Regions from separate parts of the Homo sapiens genome. Here all the other regions are linked to region 1. The links are contacts of gene promoters, found by promoter capture Hi-C in blood cells and fetal thymus (Javierre and others, 2016). All regions are on one chromosome and are shown on one strand. The core of a region is centred on a gene start or on the middle of the fragment in contact, and the rest is flanking DNA. Distances in the headings are between cores, read along the strand shown.

What was found. The method cuts DNA at HindIII sites, captures the fragments that hold promoters and counts their contacts. A CHiCAGO score of 5 or more calls a contact.
Region 2: a contact is called between a fragment that was not itself captured here and the fragment with the promoter of PRKDC in region 1, in 1 of 17 cell types (neutrophils). The highest score is 9.5, in neutrophils.
Region 3: a contact is called between a fragment that was not itself captured here and the fragment with the promoter of PRKDC in region 1, in 7 of 17 cell types (activated CD4 T cells, neutrophils, erythroblasts and 4 more). The highest score is 8.9, in activated CD4 T cells.
Region 4: a contact is called between a fragment that was not itself captured here and the fragment with the promoter of PRKDC in region 1, in 1 of 17 cell types (neutrophils). The highest score is 5.2, in neutrophils.
Region 5: a contact is called between a fragment that was not itself captured here and the fragment with the promoter of PRKDC in region 1, in 3 of 17 cell types (erythroblasts, activated CD4 T cells and neutrophils). The highest score is 6.1, in erythroblasts.

What each region holds. Positions count from the first base shown.
Region 1 is chr8:47,958,045-47,962,274 of GRCh38, forward strand. It overlaps PRKDC (protein kinase, DNA-activated, catalytic subunit), which reads right to left and starts at 2,092. Exons shown (of 86, transcript NM_006904.7): 1 at 1,929-2,092. The coding sequence starts at 2,082. It overlaps MCM4 (minichromosome maintenance complex component 4), which reads left to right and starts at 2,897. Exons shown (of 17, transcript NM_182746.3): 1 at 2,897-2,970; 2 at 3,087-3,170; 3 at 3,472-3,636; 4 at 4,009-4,172. The coding sequence starts at 3,101. RefSeq lists an enhancer at 1,561-1,720 and silencers at 1,901-1,950, 1,961-2,260, 2,931-3,330. The HindIII fragment of the contact is 8,899 bases long and covers 426-4,230 here.
Region 2 is chr8:47,742,603-47,746,832 of GRCh38, forward strand. No RefSeq gene overlaps it. Among named protein-coding and RNA genes, the nearest start is that of CEBPD, 6.6 kb to the left of the region's middle. The HindIII fragment of the contact is 5,781 bases long and covers 1-4,230 here.
Region 3 is chr8:47,774,244-47,778,473 of GRCh38, forward strand. PRKDC (protein kinase, DNA-activated, catalytic subunit) reads right to left here. Exons shown (of 86, transcript NM_006904.7): 83 at 4,216-4,230; 84 at 3,443-3,631; 85 at 2,601-2,740; 86 at 1-134. Among named protein-coding and RNA genes, the nearest start is that of CEBPD, 38 kb to the left of the region's middle. The HindIII fragment of the contact is 8,625 bases long and covers 1-4,230 here.
Region 4 is chr8:47,792,001-47,796,230 of GRCh38, forward strand. PRKDC (protein kinase, DNA-activated, catalytic subunit) reads right to left here. Exons shown (of 86, transcript NM_006904.7): 74 at 2,290-2,501. Among named protein-coding and RNA genes, the nearest start is that of CEBPD, 56 kb to the left of the region's middle. The HindIII fragment of the contact is 6,008 bases long and covers 1-4,230 here.
Region 5 is chr8:47,812,736-47,816,965 of GRCh38, forward strand. The region is part of intron 68 of PRKDC (protein kinase, DNA-activated, catalytic subunit); the gene reads right to left. Among named protein-coding and RNA genes, the nearest start is that of CEBPD, 77 kb to the left of the region's middle. The HindIII fragment of the contact is 8,762 bases long and covers 1-4,230 here.

The DNA.
Region 1 (4,230 bases), core at 842-3,341:
GCTGACCTTAAAATGGGAAGATCATACTGGATTATCCAGAGAGCCCAATGTAATCACACAGGCCCTTAAAGTAAGGAGATGAAGAAGAGTGGGTCAGAGAGACAGGAAGTTGGGAAAGCGGGAGATTCCAAACCTCTAGTTAGGGGGACTTGACATGCTGTTGCTGGCCTTGAAGACCAAGGGAAGGGAGCTGTGATCCAAGGAAAGGGGACAGCTTCAAGAAGTATGGAATGTCAGGGACCTCAATCCTATATAACCTGAATGAATAAGGCAATGGATCCTCCCCAAGAGCCTTCAGAAAGAAAGCAGCCCTGTCTGGTACTTTGGTTCTAGCTTGGTGAGACCTGTGTGGGATTCTGACTCACAGAATCCCCCTTACAGTGGGAACTGTAAGAGTAACAGACCTGTGCTGTTTTAAACCACTAAGCTTGTGGTAATTGTTACAGCAGCAATAAGGAACTAATACACTTCCCCTGGAATCTCTCAAGTGAAAGGAGATATGGCATAAATGGAAGGTAAACTTGGAAGTGCTTTAGAAACAAGTTACTAAACGAACAAAAATGAATTCTAAATTTGAAACCCTGAGAAGAGAAAGTAATCACGCAATGTTAGTTTTTTGTTTGATATTTCCCCATTGTTAATATATTCTTGACAACAGATAGAGTACATATAGGATACATGTATATAGCATCTTTTTTTTTTTTTTTTTGGGACGGAGTCGTGCTCTGTTGCCCAGGCTGGAGTGCAGTGGCACAATCTCGGCTCACTGCAATCTCCTTCTCCTGGGTTCAAGACATTCTCCTGTCTCAGCCTCCCGAATAGCTGGGACTACAGGCGCTCGCCACCATGCCCAGTTAATTTTTGTATTTTTAGTAGAGACAAGGTTTCACCATACTGGTCAGGTTGGTCTCCATCTCCTGACCTCAGGTGATCCAGCTGCCACAGCCTCCCAAAGTGCTGGGATTACAGGCATGAGCCACCGCACCGTGCCACATATAGCATCTAGTTTAAACTGTTTAAGTTATTCCTACACCATATTCACTACTAGACCCTCCGGAAGAAAATCTCACCTTTTAATAGGGCACAACATCAAGGTCTGCATACTCGTGTTTTAAAGAAGGAATACAGGAGATCCACATAATTAAGTATTTGAATATTTAAAATGCTAAAAAGAGGCACTTTTACTACAAAGGGGAAAAAGTTCCCACCCAGGCATTGCTAAAGAGTTAAAAGAACATGACTTCAATTACATTTCTTCAATTTTTCTCAAAGTAGGAACGGCAAATAGAGGGGTTTGGAAAAGGTACTGGTGGGATTAGGCGAGATTCAGGTGAAAGAAAATACTTTCTCTTGGCCGGGCCCGGTGGCTCACGTCTGTAATCCCAGCACTTTGGGAGGCCGAGGCGGGGGGATCACGAGGTCAGGAGTTCGAGACCAGCCTGACCAACATGGTGAAACCCCATCTCTACTAAAAATACAAAAAAATTAGCCGGGCGTGGTGGCGCGCGCCTGTAATCCCAGCTACTCGGGGGGCTGAGGCAGGAGAATAGCTTGAACCCGGGAGGCGGAGGTTGCAGTGAGCCGAGATCGCGCCACTTCACTCCAGCCTGGGCGACAGAGCGAGACTCCGTCTCAAAAAAAAAAAAAATTATTTCTCTTGCCCTGCCCCCCACTCTGCATAGCAATGATTGCCATATTAGGGGTCGTTTTCACCAACTTTGGCTTTAAAATATCTTTCCTCTAATACTAGGGGGTAAAAAGCAGTATGACAAATCCCTTTATACACATACACAGAAATTCCCCCAAGAATCTAATTGCTGTACTTCAAAATACCGTCATCTAAACACAGAGAAGCGCCGGGCTGCCCGGCTCCAGAACGACTCGGGAAGCCAGGACCCACCCGCGGCCCAGCTCGGGCCGGTACCCACCCAGCACCGCGGGGCTGCTGCTCAGGACGCATTCCTGCCCCAGGCCGCGGATCAGTTGATGACCGGCCAGGGCAGCACCGCAGCGGTCCGCAGCGGACAAGGTCTCCTGCAGCCGCAGCAGGGAGCAACGCACACCGGCTCCGGAGCCCGCCATGCCGCCGAGTCCCGCTCCCGCGCGTGCGCCCGCTCGGCCCGGACCCGGAAATGCCCCTACGCGCGGAGGCGGGGCTGCGGGGCGCGGCGGCAGGAACTTTCCCGGGGACCCCTGCGGGAAGGCCTGGCCAGTAAGCGCGCCTCTTTGGCCCGAATCAACATGGAAACCTAAGGAAAAACGTCTGACCTGCGGAGGTAGTTTGGGTGGCTACTTGGTGTTGGACTTGGCTAAATAAATACCAGAGGCAGATAAAACAAGCGAGGGGCCTAGGTCAAGAGTTCCAAGTTTGTTCCTCGATAAAAAACGACAAACGCGGTCGGGGGCGGTGATGCCCGCCTGCAGTCCCAACACTTTAGGAAGCTGAGGCGGGGGGATCGCAGGAGTTCGAGACCAGTCTGGGCAACATAATGAGACCATCCCCACCACCTCCCGTCCTTAATTTTTTTTAATAAAAAAAATCTTTAAGTGAGAAATGCATCTGTAATGTCCTTATTAACCAAAAACGCCTAAGGGATAAAGAAGCACACGCTCCCTAGCCAACGCTAGAGGAACACACCCCGAGAGCTGGTGCTGTAGGACCCAGTTTTCCCGCGAAAACGCTGCCGCGCAGGGGGTCAGACCATCTGGACCAAGGGGGGCCGAGCGAGGCCTACTTCTGGTTTACGCACGGGCGCTGAAAGAAGCGGCACTGTCCCCCCCTGCCGATGCGCAGTGGCGCCTCCCGGAGGCGGAGCCACGTACGAGCGCCGCTGTGATTGGTGAGGCCCCGCCAGGGGCGGAGACGACCTTGCCGCCGGCGGGAACTCTGGGTCTCGCGGTTTGGGAGCGCTACTCGCCAGGTGGACTCGGAGTCCGCGAGCGTCGTCGGCAAGCGGCCGCCTTTCCACGGTAACCGCGCGCCGGCGGGGAGGGCGTGGCGCGGAGCCGACGGGAACGTCCGCGCTGCGGAGCAGGGCAGGGAAGCCGGGAGGCGGGCCCGGCCCGAGCTTGTCCTTGTCGCGCAGGTACTCCGAGCACTATGTCGTCCCCGGCGTCGACCCCGAGCCGCCGCGGCAGCCGGCGTGGAAGGGCCACCCCCGCCCAGACGCGTGAGTCCCCCGAGCCGGGCCCACTACAGCCCCCGGCGCCGCCCCGTCTGCCCTCTCGCCGCAGCTGGCAGCGCTGGGTGGGTGCGCGGGACCCGGGCGCTCAGCCTCGGGCTGGGCGCTGCCGCTTGGTGCGCACAGACACCCACAGCAGGCTGTGGCCTGGGTGCTGCTTAATTCGATTGCCATTTGCCTCTGTTTGGTTTGGTTCAGTGGTGAGTCATAATGCCCCAAGGAAAAGACAAATCCAGGAAGGCCGGCCCTGAAAGTTAATGGCTGTCTTTTCTGTTTTGTGTGACACAAGCTCGGAGTGAGGATGCCAGGTCATCTCCCTCTCAGAGACGTAGAGGCGAGGATTCCACCTCCACGGGGGAGTTGCAGCCGATGCCAACCTCGCCTGGAGTGGACCTGCAGAGCCCTGCTGCGCAGGACGTGCTGTTTTCCAGCCCTCCCCAAATGCATTCTTCAGGTGCGTGTCTGAAGATCTTGGTTTTGCTGTGCTTGATACACAGCTGATGCTTTATCTGCTCAGGTTTACTGGCTTTATAACAGTTGGCATAACGCCTAAAGCATCCCCTCTGCACGTGACTGAGCATGTTCTTAACCAGAGGAGCTGAACGGAGTGCAGAAAATAGTAGTTTTAGGGCTTAGTGAGCAGAGGAAGCAGCTTCTCTGGTGCTTTTTTTTAATAGAACATTTAAGAGTGCTCAGAATCTCAGCCACCGCAGGTTGCAATAAATATTCAGTTTGCTGTTGCGATTAGATGGTATAGATCAACAGACAACATGCTGTAATTTCAGGTTTGATATGCCACCAGAATTTCCTAATTTTGTTTTTATAGCTATCCCTCTTGACTTTGATGTTAGTTCACCACTGACATACGGCACTCCCAGCTCTCGGGTAGAGGGAACCCCAAGAAGTGGTGTTAGGGGCACACCTGTGAGACAGAGGCCTGACCTGGGCTCTGCACAGAAGGGCCTGCAAGTGGATCTGCAGTCTGACGGGGTGAGTATGCAGTCTCCTGAAACCATCTTATGGCGGGTATCATGTGGGTAACTCTGTT
Region 2 (4,230 bases), core at 1,117-3,616, 220 kb before region 1:
TTCCTCTCACAACAACTGGCACCTGACTCAACTCCAAATACCCAGGACCTGCCTGGTTTCCTGTGTGTGAAGCTGATGGTTCCACCGAGAGCTCTTTCTCCTCTGCACTACTCTGCTGGCAAGAGCAATGGTGCCTGCCTCGATGGTGCTTTCTGTGACTTACTTAATCACTTCCTCATCTGACTTCTCAGGAAAAATACATCCCACATCTTGTCAATTATTAAGTGCACTTTTTTTATATTTTATTGAAATTGGGATGCATGTGACAATCACTGTTGTCCAGAGTGTCAGTTAGGATATTTGTCTTTGTCCACATATGGGTGCCAGTGGCTGGGAGTGAATCCTGAGGATGATGGCGGAGAGCACTTTCTAAAGAAATGCTACATCGCTCGCTGTCTTGATGGAATGAAGAGCAGTGGTGTGTAAAAACCTGCAGGGCAATGACTCTGAAATGAAAAGTGATTCAGAGGAGACAGTGAGTGAACATGAAAACATTTGGGAACATCTTAAGCAATTTACTTATATTGTCCTTTTTACATGCACGTAAGAGTGATATATTATTAAAATCAATGTCTAAAAGAAATGAAGTTCTTTCTATGAGTACAAAATCAAAATTTTAAGAAATATGAGAGAAGCAACATCACCAAAAATGGCAGAGTAAAGAATTCCAGTGCTCCATCACTCCACAAATACAGCTGGCAAAAGCTGTCCTAATCAACTTTTACAGAACTCTGAAATCTAGCCACAAACTTACAGCAACTGGGGAAAGTATAATGAAGAAAGAAGCTGCTGCAATGTACTAAGAAAGCACTTTGGTGTTTTAAACTGCCTGCTTGCCATCCCTCCTTCTCCAGATTGTTGGTGGCCATGAAGATGGCAGCATGAACTCCTGATGCAGGCTGCTAGTGCCAGAGTGAACAACACAGACTCTGTTCTCAAAGAAACGGGAGTGTGCTTGGACCGGGCTGACAGCTCCCTGATGGACTAGAGCAAGGATAGCGTTTGCATTTGGGCATTTGCCAAGAGCAGCAAGGGCAAAAGTACTGGCTGTAGGAGCCTGAGACAAGCAATAGAAAGACCAAAAAGTCTAGGAAGGAAGAGCTTGAGGAAGAACATAAGTGGGGAATAAGGGCCATTAAAAGCTCTTGCGTGTACCAGGGAATTACGTGCATGCCCAGCGTGGGCGGAGTGCTCAGAAAAGGCCTGAGAAGACCTCAAGCCTCCACTTCTGGCTGACCTTCAAGATGTGCACATTCAAGAAGAGAAAGCTAAGACAGAATTATAAACAACCTGGCTAAGTGTTAAAGGAGTATGCCAACACAGAGCCAGTCTCTAAAGACTGGAAGAGTTTCTGTAGGTACTTTTTTTTTCTCTCTCTCTTTCTTTTATGGGTTGGGGGCTTTGGGCATTTAAGGTTACTCTGTTAAAAATACTAGCTGACCACTAAGCTAATGGAACACAGACTTCAGTGGCCTCACACAACAAACACAATACAGATGTTACAAAAGTAGTTTTGAAAAGTCAGTAACAAGTAACAACAGCCCACAACAAATAGCAACAACAAACCCTTGGCAGGGGTGGAGGGTGGGGGCGGAATCTACTTTGCAGAGTTGCCACATTGTAATTATCAAAATGCTGAGTTTTTGACAAACATTTATGAAGCATGCAAAGAAACAAGAAAGTATAAACCATTCACAAGCATACTCTGAAGAAATTAATAGAAACTATCCCTGAGGAAGCCAGACACTGGACTTACTTAGTGGACAAAAACTAAATCACATGTCTTTAAAATGCTCAGAGTTAGGGTAAACCATGTACAAAGGACTAAAGGAAGCCAGGAGCATGAAGTATCACCGAATAGAGAATATCAGTTAAGAGAGAGAAATTACCAAAAAGAACCAATTAGAAATTCTGGAGCTGAAATGAAATGAAAAATCACTAGGAGGTTACAACAACAAACAGGTTTAAACAGGCACCAGAAATAATCATCAGACTGGATGCAGTGGCCCACACCTGTAATCCCAGCACTTTGGGAGGCCGAGGCAGGCAGATCATTTGAGGTCAGGAGATTGAGACCAGGCTGACCAACTTGGTGAAACCCTGTCTCTAATAAAAATCCAAAGAAAATTAGCTGGGGATGGTGGCGCATGCCTGTAATGTCAGCTACTTGGGAGGCCAAGGCAGGAGAATCTGTTGAACCTGGGAGGCAGAGGTTGCAGTGAGCCGAGGTCGTGCCACTGCACTGCAGCCTGGGCAACAGAGCAAGACTCCATCAAAAGAAAGAAAGAGAAAGAGAGAGAGGGAGGGAGGGAGGAAGGGAAAGAAAGAAAGAGAGAGAGAGAAAGAAGGAAAGAAAGAAAGAAAAGAAAGAGAAAAGAGAGAGACAAAGAAAAAGAGAGGGAGGGAGGGAAAGGAGGGAAAGGAAGGAAAGGAAAGAAAAAGGAAAGAAAGAGAAAGAATCAGCAAACTTGAATATAGGACAATTGAAATTATGCAGCCCGGGAAGCACAAAAGAAAAGAATGAAGAAAAGTGAACCAAGCCTAAGGGACCTGTGGGATATCATCAAGTAGATCAACATATGCATAATGAGAGTCCCAGAAAGAGGAGACAAAGAGAAAGTAGCAGAAAGACTACCTAAATAAATAATAGGCCGGGCACAGTGGATCATGCCTGTAATCCCAGCACTTTGGGAGGCCAAGGTGGACGGATCACCTGAGGTCAGGAATTCAAGACCATCTCTACTAAAAATACAAAAATTAGCCAGACATGGTGGTGGGCACCTGTAATCTCAGCTACTAGGGAGGCTGAGGCAGGAGAATCACTTGAACCTGGGAGGCGAAGGTTGCAGTGAGCTGAGATTGTGCCACTGCACTCCAGCCTGGGGGACAGTGAGACTCCATTTCAAAAAAAAAAAAAGAAAGAAAGAATAGCCAAAATGTCCCATATTTTGTGAAATACATGAATTCTACGCATCCAAGAAGTTCAACAACACCAAGTAGAACAAACTCAAAGAGATCCATACTAAGAAACACTATAGTCAAATTATTGAACACCAAACAAAAAGAGACAATCTGGAAAGCTGCAAGAGCCAAGTGACTCATCACATACAAGAGATCCTGAATAAAATTAATAATCAGTTTTTCATCAAAACCATGGTGGTCAGGAGACAGTGGGATAAAAGGAAAAAAGTCAACCAGAAATACTATATCCAGCAAAAATTGAGACATTAAGACATTTCCAGCTAAACAAAAACTGATGTATTTCACCAATAGACCTGCTCTAGAAATCCTAAAGGAAGTCTTCCAGGCTGAAACAAAAGGACATCAAACAGTAACTCAAACACATGCAAAAATAAAGAACAATGGTAAATGTAGCTACATAGGTAAATATAAAAACACCCTTTGGTTTATAAGTTCCTTTTTCATTTTACTAAATAGTTTAAAAGACAAACCCCTGAAACAATAATTGTAAAGCTATGTTAACAGGCACACAATATATAAAGATGCAGTTTGTGATACTACAACATAAAGTGTGGGAAGAGGGGCACAACAGAGCTGTAAAGGAACAGAGTCTTTGTATGCTATGAAACTCAGTTGGTATTTAATTAAAACTTGGTTATTATAAAGTTAATCGTTATTCCCCAGAGTAAACGCTAACACAAAACCTAAAAATACATACGGAAATGGAAATAAGGGAATCAAAGTGGTGTACTAGAAGATGTCTTCTGGTAGGTGAATGGATAAACTGTGGTACACCCAGCTTCTAGCCGTGAAAAGACACGGAGGAAACTTAAATTCATATTAGCGAAAGAAACACATCTGAAAAGGCTACCTACATGCTGTATGATTCCAACTCTGTGATATCCAAGAAAAGGGAAAACTATGGACACAGTGAAAATATCACTGGTTGCCAGAGGTTGAGAGGGAAGGAGGGAGGGATGAGTAGGTAGAGCATAGGGAATTTTTAGGGCGCTGAAACCAGTCTGTATGATACTATAATAGTAGATACATGTCATTATACATTTGTTTAAACTCACAGGATGTACAACACCAAGAGTGAACACTAATGTAAACTATGGATACTGGTTGATAACAGTGTGTTAATGTTGGTTCATGGATTGTAGAAAATGCACCACGCTGGCTCAGATTGTTGGTGGTGAAGGAGGGGGTGTGCATTGGGATGGGAGCAAGGAGACCTATGGGCATTCTACCTTTCACTAAATTTTTCTG
Region 3 (4,230 bases), core at 661-3,160, 180 kb before region 1:
ACTTCACTTGAGTCTCTTCTGAAAGCCCACTCTCTGGTTCTTGGGCACGAATGTTGTGATCTTTGCTTCCTCGTGCCACAGCCACATAGTCTCTGAAGGCAGGGGCCTTCTCATGACCCAGGAGTAGCTCATCACTGGAAAAAAAACAAACACAGAAAACACAAAGCATGTGTCATTGTCCTTTGTTGCCTGCATCCCTAGTGATCCTATCCAAACACATTCCCCACGTCATCACTCACAGAGTATTTTCTGTGGCTTATAACCTTGAAGTCAAAGACTGGATTTGTAGGAAAACAGAACATGAATTATGCTGCTCAAGTTTTTGTGTGAATGTATGCCTTCACTTCTCCTGAGTGAATTCCTAGGATTCACCTAGGAGTGGCATTGATGGGTCCAATGGTAACTCTATGTTTAACTTTGTGAAGAACTGCCACTTTCCCACAGCAGCTGCACCTTTTCCCACTCCCACCAGCAGAGTATGAGGAGTCCACCTTCTCTACATCCTCAACACTTGTTAGATTCCTTTTTTTTTAATTAAAAAAAGAGAAAGTTTTAAAAATTTTTGGTAGAGACAGGGTCTTGCTATGTTGCCCAGGCTAGACTTGAACTCCCGGGCTCTAGTTATCCTCCTGCCTTGGCCTCCCAAAGTGCTGGGATTACAGGTGTGAGCCACTGCATTAGCCCCATTTTAAAATTATAGTCATCTGGCAAGGCGTGGTGGCTCGCCTGAGGTCAGGAGTTCAAGACCAGCCTGGCCAACATGGCGAAACCCCATTTCTACTAAAAATACAAAAATTACCAGGCGTGGTAGCATGAACCTATAATTCCAGCTACTCAGGAGGCTCGGACAGGAGGATCGCTTGAACCCAGGAGGTGGGGGTTGCAGTGAGTCCATATCGTGCCATTGCACTCCAGCCTGGGTGACAGAGCAAGACTTTGTCTCAAAAATAAATAAATAAATAAATAAATAAATTAATTAATTAATAGCCATCCTAGCAGGTGTGAGGTAGTATCTCACTTGGATTTCCCTGATGACTAGTGACGTTGAGCATTTTTGCATGCCGCTTATTGGCCATTTGTATATTTTCATTAAAGAAATGTCAGTTCAAGTCTTTTGACCATTTTTTTTTTTTTTTTTTTTTTTTTGAGACAGGGTCTTGCTCTGTCACCCAGGCCGGAGTGCAATGGCGTGATCTCGGCTCACTGCAACCTCTGCCTCCTGGGTTCAAGTGATTCTCCTGCCTCAGCCTCCCTAGTAGCTGGGATTACAGGTGTGAGCCACTGCGCCCAGCCCTGACCATTTTTAATTGGGTTATCTATCTACCTATTATTAGGCAATAAGAGTTTTTTTAATGTATTCTAGATACAAGTCCCATATCAGATACATGACTTGCAAATATTTTATCCCATTTGGAAGGCTGAAACACCTTCTTGATAGCACTCTGTGAAGCACAAAATTGTTTAATTTTGATGAAGTCCAATGTATATATTTGTTTCTTGCTTGTGCTTTCAGTGTCATACCTAAAAAATGGCAAGTATCACAACAAAATCCAAGGTCAGGATGATTTACTCCTATTCCTTTTTTTTTTTTTTTTCTGAGGCAGAGTCTCACTTTGTCGCCTAGGCTGGAGTACAGTGGTGCCATCTTGGCTCACTGCAACCTCCGCCTCCCCAGGTTCAAGTCATTCTCCTCCCTCAGCCTCCCTAGCAGCTGGGATTACAGGTGCGCACCACCATGCCCAGCTAATTTTTGTATTTTTAGTAGAGATGGGGTTTCACCTTGATGGCCAGGGTGGTCTCGAACTCCTGACCTCAAGTGATCCACTAGCCTTGGCCTCCCAAAGTGTTGAGGCGTGAGCCACCACGCCCAGCTGATTTACTCCTATTTCTAAGTGTTTTATAGTTTTGACTCTTACACTTAGCTCTCTGATCCATTCTGAATTAATTTTTCCACATGGTGTGAAACAAGGACCTAACTTCATTCTTTTGCCAGCGCTATTTGTTGGAAAGGTCACTGAATGGTCTTGGCACCCTTGTCAAAAATAAGTTGACAATAGATTGCCACTATTACTTAATTCTAAAGTCCAACTTTTTTCATTCCTATGAATCATCTCCATAAATTTCTATTTGCTTTAGACCTCAACAAGAGAAAACTTTAAGGCTAACCTAAAAGCCAACCCAAATTGAATTCTCATCTAACAAGCCCACACAGTGCTTTTCATACCTAGGTACTATATTCATCAGGGTCAAACGCCCTAAAAAGGACAAAAGCAAATTTAAAACCTAAGTCTCCTCATGCATGTAACAATATTCTGGCAACTGTCTAAGAGTGCACCTTCTGTTTCTCCAATTGGCGCCACTGTTCCAGGGACTGAGTTTAAACCTGAAGACAGTGCAGGGGTCACATACGTCAGAGTTGCAGGCCTTGCCCTGGCTTTGGGGAAGTCAGCCTCTCTAAGCCCTGCTTTCCTCCTCAATGAAAGCAGAGAAGTCATGCTAACAGAGTGTCAAGAGCTCAGCACTTTGTATATATGTTGGCTCCTCGAGAAACAGTAGCATGTCGGTAGTCCGTTAGTTTTTTCCACATATAAAAATCTTACCAAGTAATGACTGCTGGATTGGCACCTGCTAACTTTCTCTTAGCGTAACATATTTTCTGTCGGGGGTACCAATTTTTTTCAGCAACATTTATTTCTTGAATCCATGACCCTCCTTTTTTCAGCATTTTCTGTTCAAAATTCTAGAAGAAAAGAACATGATTTTCCCGGCTGATCATAATGGTATATACAATCATGCCCAAACAGATTAAATCTAGTAATGATCTTAAAGTAAACAAACATCTATAACCAGGAGCAGCCTTGCTTTCTACAGCTACAAAGCTGTTCATACAGACTCCATGGCACACACATCACGAGACGAGGGGCCTCAGCAGTCCCCTTATTTCTCCAAATAAAGGTTTTGCCTGTTAATTTTTTTTTTTTTGAGGCGGAGTTTCACTCTTGTCACCCAGGCTGGAGTGCAGTGGCGTGATCTCGGCTCACTGCAACCTCTGCCTCCTGGTTTCAAGCCATTCTCCTGCCTCAGCCTCCCAAGGAGCTGGGATTACAGGTGTGCGTTACCACGCCCAGCTAATTTCTGTATTTTTAGTAGAGACAGGGTTTTACCATGTTGGCCAGGCTGGTCTCCAACTCCTGACCTCAGGTGATCCTCCCGTCTCTGCCTCCCAAAGTTTTGGGATTATAGGTGTGAGCCACTGGGCCCAGCCTCTTAACTGGTTTTCAAGCAGACAATCCTAAATACTAACTTTGAGAAATGCTGTACAAAATAATGTAAATATTTTCATCAACATGACTCAATGCACTTCCATCATACACGAGAGATACCAGCTTGATCACGGGGACACTGTCACAAAAGTGAAAAGTGCACATGAAACAAAACCTACTTTCCAATCAAAGGAGGGCTCCTTGACAAACACATCCATGGTGTTGGTGAGCAGGCCAGGGTCTGAGCGGAAGGCCCGGAGTGCGTGTACCATGATGCTGTACATAAGGCCCGTTTCTTTCATTGGTAACATCAGATTGATAAACTGGCGAGTTAGCCGAAAAGGCATCAACTCAGGGACTGGCAGAAACTAAACAAGAAAAAAGGCAAGGAGCAGAATATGTAAGCCAGAACTCTCAAAGTACCGAGCACAAATGGCAGCATCCTCACATAGTTACTGTTCACATTTAGTAAAAATACAGACTCTGCTTCCCTTGAAATCAGCTACACAGATGTGAGTTCCTATGCTCGAGAGTAACCCCCTCGGCTTGAGTTATCCCTCAATGCAAAACCCACGTGCACAGGACACAGGGCCGCAGAGATTGAGAAGGATGATCCAAAACATTCAGAGGTTAACCAGAGAAAAGATCTGTATCACATTTTTGACCAGACATTTTTATTACGGGGCTTCCTAAAACTTTCTTAGAGTCTTCCTTTGATCTGCGAACACATTTAATTACCGGCTCTGATGATATCACTGATCACCATGACTTCTGTGACCTGACTGAATGAGGCTGAACTAAGTGATTATCCCTTTCTGCATTCAATGACCATGACAAAACGAATCTAACTAATATGTTGTTTTTCCTTAAAAACTGTCTATTTCTGGAGGTTGTTGAAAGTCCTATGATGACTCTCGCCTTGCCCAGGATCACGAGAGCACAGCAAGTGCACCTGTGTAGCGGATCC
Region 4 (4,230 bases), core at 844-3,343, 170 kb before region 1:
TACTATTTAGCCATAAAAAAGAATGAGATCCTGTCACTTGAAACAACATGGATGGAACTGAAGGACATTATGTGAAATAAGTCAGGCACAGAAAAACTTCACATGTTCTTACTCATTTGTGGAAGCTAAAAATTAAAACAACTGAACTCGTGGGGAGGGGAGGTGGAAAGCGGGGATGGTTAATGGGCACAAAAATATAGTTAGGAAAAACAGGATCTAGTATTTAGTGGCACAACAGGGTGACCACAGTAAAATTTTTTTTTTTTTTTTTTTGTTGAGACAGAGTTTTGCTCTGTCACCCAGGCTGGAGTGCAGTGGCTTGATCTCGGCTCACTGCAAGCTCCGCCTCCCGGGTTCACGCCATTCTCCTGCCTCAGCCTCCCAAGTAGCTGGGACTATAGGCACCTGCCACCATGCCCGGCTAATTTTTTGTATTTTTAGTAGAGATGGGGTTTCACCGCATTAGCCAGGATGGTCTCGATCTCCTGACCTCCTGATCCGCCCACTTCAGCCTCCCAAAGTGCTGGGATTACAGGCGTGAGCCACCGCACCCGGCCTGACTACAGTAAATTTTTATTGTACATTTAAAAATAACTAAAAGAGTATAACTGGAATGTTTATAACACAAAGAAATGATAAATCCTTGAAGTGATGGATACTCCACTTACCCTGATGTGATTGTTACACACTGTATGCCTGTATCAAAATATCCCATGTACCCCATAAACATAGACACCTACTATGTACCCATAAAAATTAAAAATTAAAATAAAAAAAGAGCTGCTCTTAGATAAAAGCAAATCTTGCAACTGATGTTGACGTTTTGACGTATATAACGCGATATATAGTTTCTGAAGTTACATTATGAAAGAAAAGGTCACTTTTTAAAAAACAGGTTCTCACTATGATGTCCAGGTTGGACTGCAGTGGCAACTCACAAGTTCAGTCATAGCTCACTGCAGCCTTGAATTCCTGTACTCAAGCAATTCTCCCACCTCAGCCTCCTAAGTAGTTGGAAGTACAGTCACGCACCACCATGCTTAGCTTATTTTTATTTTACTATTTTAGAGATGAGATCTCACTATGTTGCCAAGGCTGGTCATGAACTCTTGGCCTCAAGCGATTCTTCCACCTCGGCCTCCCAAGTAGTTGGTATTATAGGCACAGACCATCATGCCCAGCAAGGTCACTTTCTTGACACACTGTCTCTCACATCTTTTTCTCTTCTTTCATTTTTCAAGACAATAGCTGTCTGTTCAGAGAAACAGTATGGTGGGCAGGGCCTCAGTAGGGCAGGGGTGTGTTCACAGATAAGCCACCCATTAACTGCAACAGAAGCTGGGCCTCAGCTGGGCATGGTGGCTCACGCCTGTAATCCTAGCACTTTGGGAGGCCAAGGTGGGCGGATCACCTGAGGTCACCTGAGGTCAGGAGTTCGAGACCAGCCTGGCCAAGGTGGCAAAACCCTGTCGCTACTAAAAATACAAAAATTAGCTGGGCATGGTGGCACACGCTTGTAATCCCAGCTACTCAGGAGGCTGAGGCAGGGAGAACTGCTTAAACCTGGGAGGTGGAGGTTGCAGCCGAGATTGCACTGCACTAGGTGACAGCACAATACTCTGTCTCAAAAAAAAAATAAAAAATAAAGAAATAAAAATAAAAATAAATTAATTTAAAAAAACTAAAAAAAAAAAAAAAAAAAAAGATGCCAGCGCTTTTCTTCATCTTGTTGAAATCAATACATTCAAAATAATGAGGCAGATCTGCTCATAATTAAAAACAAACAAAAAACCCCAAAACCTCATGATGGAGAATGTCACTACAACACTACACAGTTTGTGTACAAAGCATCCTTGAAATAGTTGCGCACTACTGCTCACTCATCATCGGTCTCAACTCATAAATCCGTTTAAGAGTGGACAGGATGACACTTGAGGCCATCTACTGAGTCCTAATTAAAAGGAAGAGTCGTTCTGTGTATTTTAAATTACAGGACAATTTCAGGAGCTGATTTCAAAAATCATCTCATCTAGTCTATCCCAAGCAATCATGACCATATGAGCAGAATGTTTTGTTAGCAGTGTAAGATGAAAGTATTTAAAGGAGATACATCCTATAACAAGTAACATACCCAGAATAGATATATTCAACAAAGCGACGGCTAAGATTATTCTTCAATGACAACTCTAATTAATTTGAAAACAAATGTAGTGTCCACGTGTGTGCTTTAACCACATTTTTATAACCTATAGTATTTGATCAACCTATTCCTTCTGTAATATTACCTACCTTGCCACAAACTCCTTATTCTTATGACCAGTAGAAGTATCCTTGAAGGAATAGCTTTCGCTGCTTATGATGAAGGGATAAACAATAGCCTGCGGGTAGTTATCAGTGATTTCTTCCACAGAGTGCTGAACAGCAACGGCTTGGTCTTTGTCCAGTAAGGCCACCATGTGGCTGATCCAGCTGATGAACTGCCAGCAGGGAACGGAAGAGATCTAAAACAGAGAGCTGAAACTTAATGCTGAGTAAAACATCTCACATCATCTGTTATAAAAGTAACATATGTCCAAAATAAAGAAAACTCAGAAGTATAAAAACGCAAGTACAAAACAAGTCTTCCATCCCCTAGCTCTCTTCTGCTGCGGCAACCACTGGACTCTCCCAGGCACTTTCTGTGCAGGAGAACAGTCTTTTGTTGCAAGAATGGAATCACACGAGACAGCTGCTGCTGGTTGTTCTTAGACAGATGTATAGAAAAATCTTCTACTTCATTCCTCCTGGCGGCTATGTAGTATTCCATGTTGTTTACTGCTCTATAATGAATATTTCAATTTTTTATCACAGGTAATGCTGCAGTAGACATCCCTGTACACATAACTTTATTTATTTATTTATTTTTTTGAGATGGGGTCTCGCTCTGTCGCCAGGCTGGAGTGCAGTGGCATGATCTTGGCTCACTGCAACCTCCGCCTCCTGGGTTTAAGCAATCTTCCTGCCTCAGACTTCTGAGTAGCTGGGACTACAGGTGCGCCACCATGCCCAGCTAATTTTCGTATTTTTAGTAGAGATGGGGGTTTCACCATGTTGGCCAGGATGGTCTCAATCTCTTGACCTCGTGACCTGCCCACATCGGCCTCCCAAAGTGCTGGGACTATAGGCGTGAGCCACCGTGCCTGGCCAACTCTTTTTTTTTTTTTTTTCTTGAGACAGAGTCTCATTGTCACCCAGGCTGGAGTGCAGTGGTGTGATCTCGGCTCACTGCAAGCTCCGCCTCCCAGGTTTACGCCATTCTCCTACTTCAGCCTCCCGAGTAGCTGGGACTACAGGCGCCTGCCACCACGCCTGGCTAATTTTTTGTATTTTTAGTAGAGATGGGGTTTCACCATGTAAGCCAGGATGGTCTCAATCTCGTGACCTCGTGATCGGCCCACCTCGACCTCCCAAAGGGCTGGGATTACAGGCGTGAGCCACCGCACCCGGCCTTTTTTTTTTTTTTTTTCTTTTGAGATGGAGTCTCACTGTATCGCTCAGGCTGGAGTGCTGTGGCGTGATCTCAGCTCACTGCAACCTTTGCTTTCTGGGTTTTAGCAATTCTTTCTACCTCAGCCTTCCGAGTAGCTGGGATTACAAACACTCGTCACCATACCCAGCTAATTTTTGTACTTTTAGTAGAGACAAGTTTCGCCACGTTGGCCAGACTGGTCTTGAACTCCTGACCTCAGGTGATCCACCCGCTTCGGCCTCCCAAAGTGCTGGGATTACAGGCATGAGCCACCGCGCCTGGTCCCCTGTACACGTAACTCTTTGTGCTATATACCTGTAGGATAAATTCCTAGAACTAAAATTACAGTGTCAACTTTAAAAATTGTAATAAACATTGGTATGGAATTTTTTTTTTTTTTTATGAGACAAGAGTCTCACTGTGTCGCCCAGGCTGGAGTGCAGTGGCGCCATCTCGGCTCACTGCAACCTCCGCCTCCTGGGTTCAAGTGATTCTCCTGCCTCAGCCTCCCGAGTAGCTGGGACTACAGGCATGTGCCATCATGCCCAGCTAATTTTTGTATTTTTAGTAGAGACAGGGTTCCACTGTGTTAGCCAGGATGGTCTCAATCTCCTGACCTCATGATCCGCCCACCTCGGCCTCCCAAAGTGCTGGGATTACAGGCATGAGCCACGGTAAAGAATTTTTCAAATTTTCATTTCTGAAAGTATTAGACTGACTAC
Region 5 (4,230 bases), core at 795-3,294, 150 kb before region 1:
GATACTAGAAATCAATTAAATAGAAAACAGACAAATAATAAAGAAAATTAACAAAGTAAAAAACTGATCCTTTGAAAAAGCAAAACTGACACAAACCTTTACCCAGATGAATCAAGTGTTAAAAAAGAGAACACAAATAACCAATATCTGGAATGAAAAAGGGGGTTCCCTCCACAGACACTACAAATAATAAAAAGGATGAGAATAATGTGAACATTATACCAATAATTTGATGACTTTGATGAAATGGACAAATTTACTTTAAAAAACAAATAAAGAAGGCAGAAATTTAAAAAGAAAATGGACAAAGTGATTGAAAAATACAATTTAACAAAAATGACACAAAAATAGAATTTTATATTTATTTATTTATTTATTTATTTATTTATTTATTTATTTTGAGACAGAATCTTGCTCTGTCTCCCAGGCTGGAATGCAATGGCACGATCTCTGCTCACTGCAACCTCCACCTCCTGGGTTCAAGTGATTCTCCTACCTCAGCCTCCTGAGTAGCTGGGACTACAGGTGCCCACCACCACATTCAGCTAATTTTTGTATTTTTAGTAGAGGCAGGGCTTCACCATATTGGCCAGGCTGGTCTCCAACTCCTGACCTCAAATGATCCACCCACCTCGGCCTCCTAAAGTGCTGGGATTACAGGTGTAAGCCACCATGCCCAGCCAGAAATAGAAAGTTTAAATTCTCTATCAGTATTGACTAAGGAAATTATATACATTATCAAAAATCTTCCCCAAGGGAAAACCCATGCCCAAATAGGATAGGTTTCACTGGTAAATCCTATCAAATATTCAAGTATGAAATAATGAGGATCTTATATAATTTTTTTTTTTCCTTTGGAGACGGAGTTTTGCTCTTGTTGCCCAGGCTGGAGTGCAATGGTACGATCTTGCCTCACCGCAACCTCTGCCTCCCGGGTTCAAGCGATTCTCCTGCCTCAGCCTCCGAGTAGCTAGGATTACAGGCATGTGCCACCATGCTCGGCTAATTTTATATTTTTAGTAGAGACAGGTTTTGTCCATGTTTGTCAGGCTGGTCTTGAACTCCTGACCTCAGGTGATCCGCCCACCTTGGCCTCCCAAAGTGCTGGAATTAGAGGCATAAGCCACCACGCCTGGCCATAAACTTTTTTTAAAATAGAGAAGGGAACATGCCTTACTCATCTTATGAGGCCATGATAACCCTAATACCAAAACCTGATGAAGATATTACAAAAAAGAAAATTACACACCAATATCCCACTTGGATGTAGATGCTAAAATCCTTAAGGGATCATCATGACCGTATTGGGTTTACCCTAAGAATGCAAGATTGGCTTCATATTTAAAAAGCATCAAAGCTAATACTTCATAAACACAATAAAGGAGAAAAACAATATGATTAAGCTGTTGCAGAAAAAGTGTTTGATAAAATTCGACATTCATTCATGATAAAACAAAACTCTCAGAAAACCTGGAATAGAAGGGAATTTCCTCAATCTGATAAAAGGCATTTACAAAAAAATTATTTTTTAAAGCTGAGTGAGTGAACTATCTTCTCTAACATCAGGAATAAAACTAAGATGCTCATTTTAGCACGTATATTCAAGATTGTACTTGAGGTCCTCATGGTTTTAACAAAGCAGGAAAATGAAATAAATGGCATAAAGTTCAGAAAGAAAGAAAGGTGGCTCTATCGGCAGATGATATGATAGAAAATCCCAGAGAACCTGCAAAACAAGAACTAAAACTACCATGTTAGCAAAGATACAAAGTTAATATATAAAAAGCAATTACATTAGCAGCAAATAATTGGAAAATAATACAATTTTAAAAATAAATCCATCTATAACAGTGCCAAAAAACATAAAATACTTAGGAATAAATCACAAAAGACATCCAAGATCTCCATACTGAAAAAATACAAATCACTGAAATTAAAGATATCTAAATTAACAGAGATATGCCATATTAATGAACTCGATAACTCTATATTGTTAAGATAGCAACTCCCCAAATTAAACTATAGTCAATACAGTCCCAATCAAAATCTCAGCAGTTTTTCTTTATACAAATTGACAAGCAGATTCTAAAATGTAAATAGAAATGCAGATCAACTAAAATAAAGTAGTTTTCATAAAGAAAGTTGAGCCAGGTGCCATGGTTCATGCCTGTAATCCCAGCACACTGGGAGGCTGAGGTGGGCGTGTTGCTTGAGCCCAGGAGTTACATACCATCCTGGGCAACATAGTGAAACCCTGTCTCCACAAAAAAAGACAAAAAAATTAGCCAGGCATGGTGGCGCACGCCTGTGGTCCCAGCTACTTGAGAGGCTGAAGTGGGAGGACTGCTTAAACCTGGGAGGCTGAGACTGCAATGAGCCATTATCGGGTGACAGAGTAAGACCCTGTCTCAAAAAAAAGAAAAGTTCGAGAACTCATCCTGTCTGACTTCAAAACGTACTATAAAGTGATATAAATGAAGGCAGTTTGCTATTGTGAAAAAAACACAAAGCAAGGGCTACAATAGAGCATCCAGAAATAGACCCACACATATGTGGTCAATTGAGTTTCAAAAAAATTGCCAAGGTGACTCAATTATGAAAGACTTTTGAACAAATGCGGCTAGATAGATATCTATATGGAAAAAGTAAACACCTACCCCTACCTCACGCCATTTACAAAAATTTTCTTCCAGTGCATCAGAGACCTCAATGTAAGACCTAAAACCATAACATTTCTAAAAGAAAACAGTAGAAGACAGGTAAGATGAGCCTGATTTGTTAGCTTAAAGGGGAGCCTGTTGGCCAAATCTGAGATAATTGAACACAAAATAAATAAGGACAGTATAGGTTATATCCCACTAAATAAAATTTGAATCCCTGAGTCTTTATTGATAATCTTTAAAAAGTAAATAAGTAAGTAAACAGAAGGAAGGGTGCCTGCTTACAATAAGATGTAGACTAATATAAATGAATGGTAGAGTTGGAAATTATAATTTTGCAACCATTATTGTCAACACTGGTTTGGGCCAGGAGTCATCCACAAATGTGAAATACAGAGGGATAAGTCTTAGGAGAAGCAGGACATTTGTATGTCTCAAAGCAGCTCCTACATTTATTTGTTAGTTGCAAAAGAAAAGCAAAAAAATGGCATTATACAGTGGAGAGACCAAACAATCAAAATTATTATCACCAGGCTGGGCATGGTAAGTAATGCCTGTAATCCCATTACTTTGGGAGGCCAAGGCTCACTTGAGGATCACTTGAGGTCAGGAGTTCAAGACCAGCTTGGCCAACATGGTGAAACCCCATCTCTACTAAAAATACAAAATTTAGCCGGGCATGGTAGTGCGTGCCTGTAATCCCAGCTACTTGGGGGGTTGAGGCAGGAGAATCGCTTGAACCTGGGAGGCGGAGGTTGCAGTGAGCTGAGATTGTGCCACCGCACTCCAGCCTGGGCAAAAAGACTGCATCAAAAAAAAAAAAATTATCACCAGTAAAAGGCAGATGGACACTGTGCCCCACGTGTGATTTGCTAGCCTGAGAAGTATTCTGGCCAGAGACAGATCACCTGAGTCCCACCATGAGGAAACGTAAGACAAACCCAAACAGAGGAACATTCCTCAAAAGTGGCAGTATTAGGACACACAAAGCCTTTCAGGGGACTAAAAAGACACATCAGATAAATAGAGTCCATCATTCTGTACTGATCTTGTTGTAGAGGTAGAGAAAATGCCACAAAGGACATTACTGGGACAATTAACAAAACTGAAATTGGGCTGTAGAGGAAAAATGAAAGCACCAAGGTTCATCACTGAACAGTAGTTACATAAAGAAAAATTCTTTTTCTTAAGAAATGAACACTGATCTATAACGAGGCAAAGGTATGTATCCAGCTTACGCTCACAACCGGTTCAGAAAATAAATAATATGTAGGGTCTGGTAGAAAAGAAAAAAATACAAATACTAACATGGAAAAATGTTTAAAATGTTATTTAAAAAATCAGTGAATCTGGGTTAAAGAACCCAGGAGAGTACTACTTTTCTTGCAACTTTTCCACAAGAACTCATCTCAAAATAAAAAGTTTAAAAAAAAAAAAAAAGTAGTAGTGGAGGAAATAATGGGAGACCATGACACTTGGGGTCAGAGTCCTTAAGTCCTATTTCCTACACACATTTGTGTGCCATAAACCTCTCTGATTTTATTACATGGTTAGTACCTGCCCTATGGAT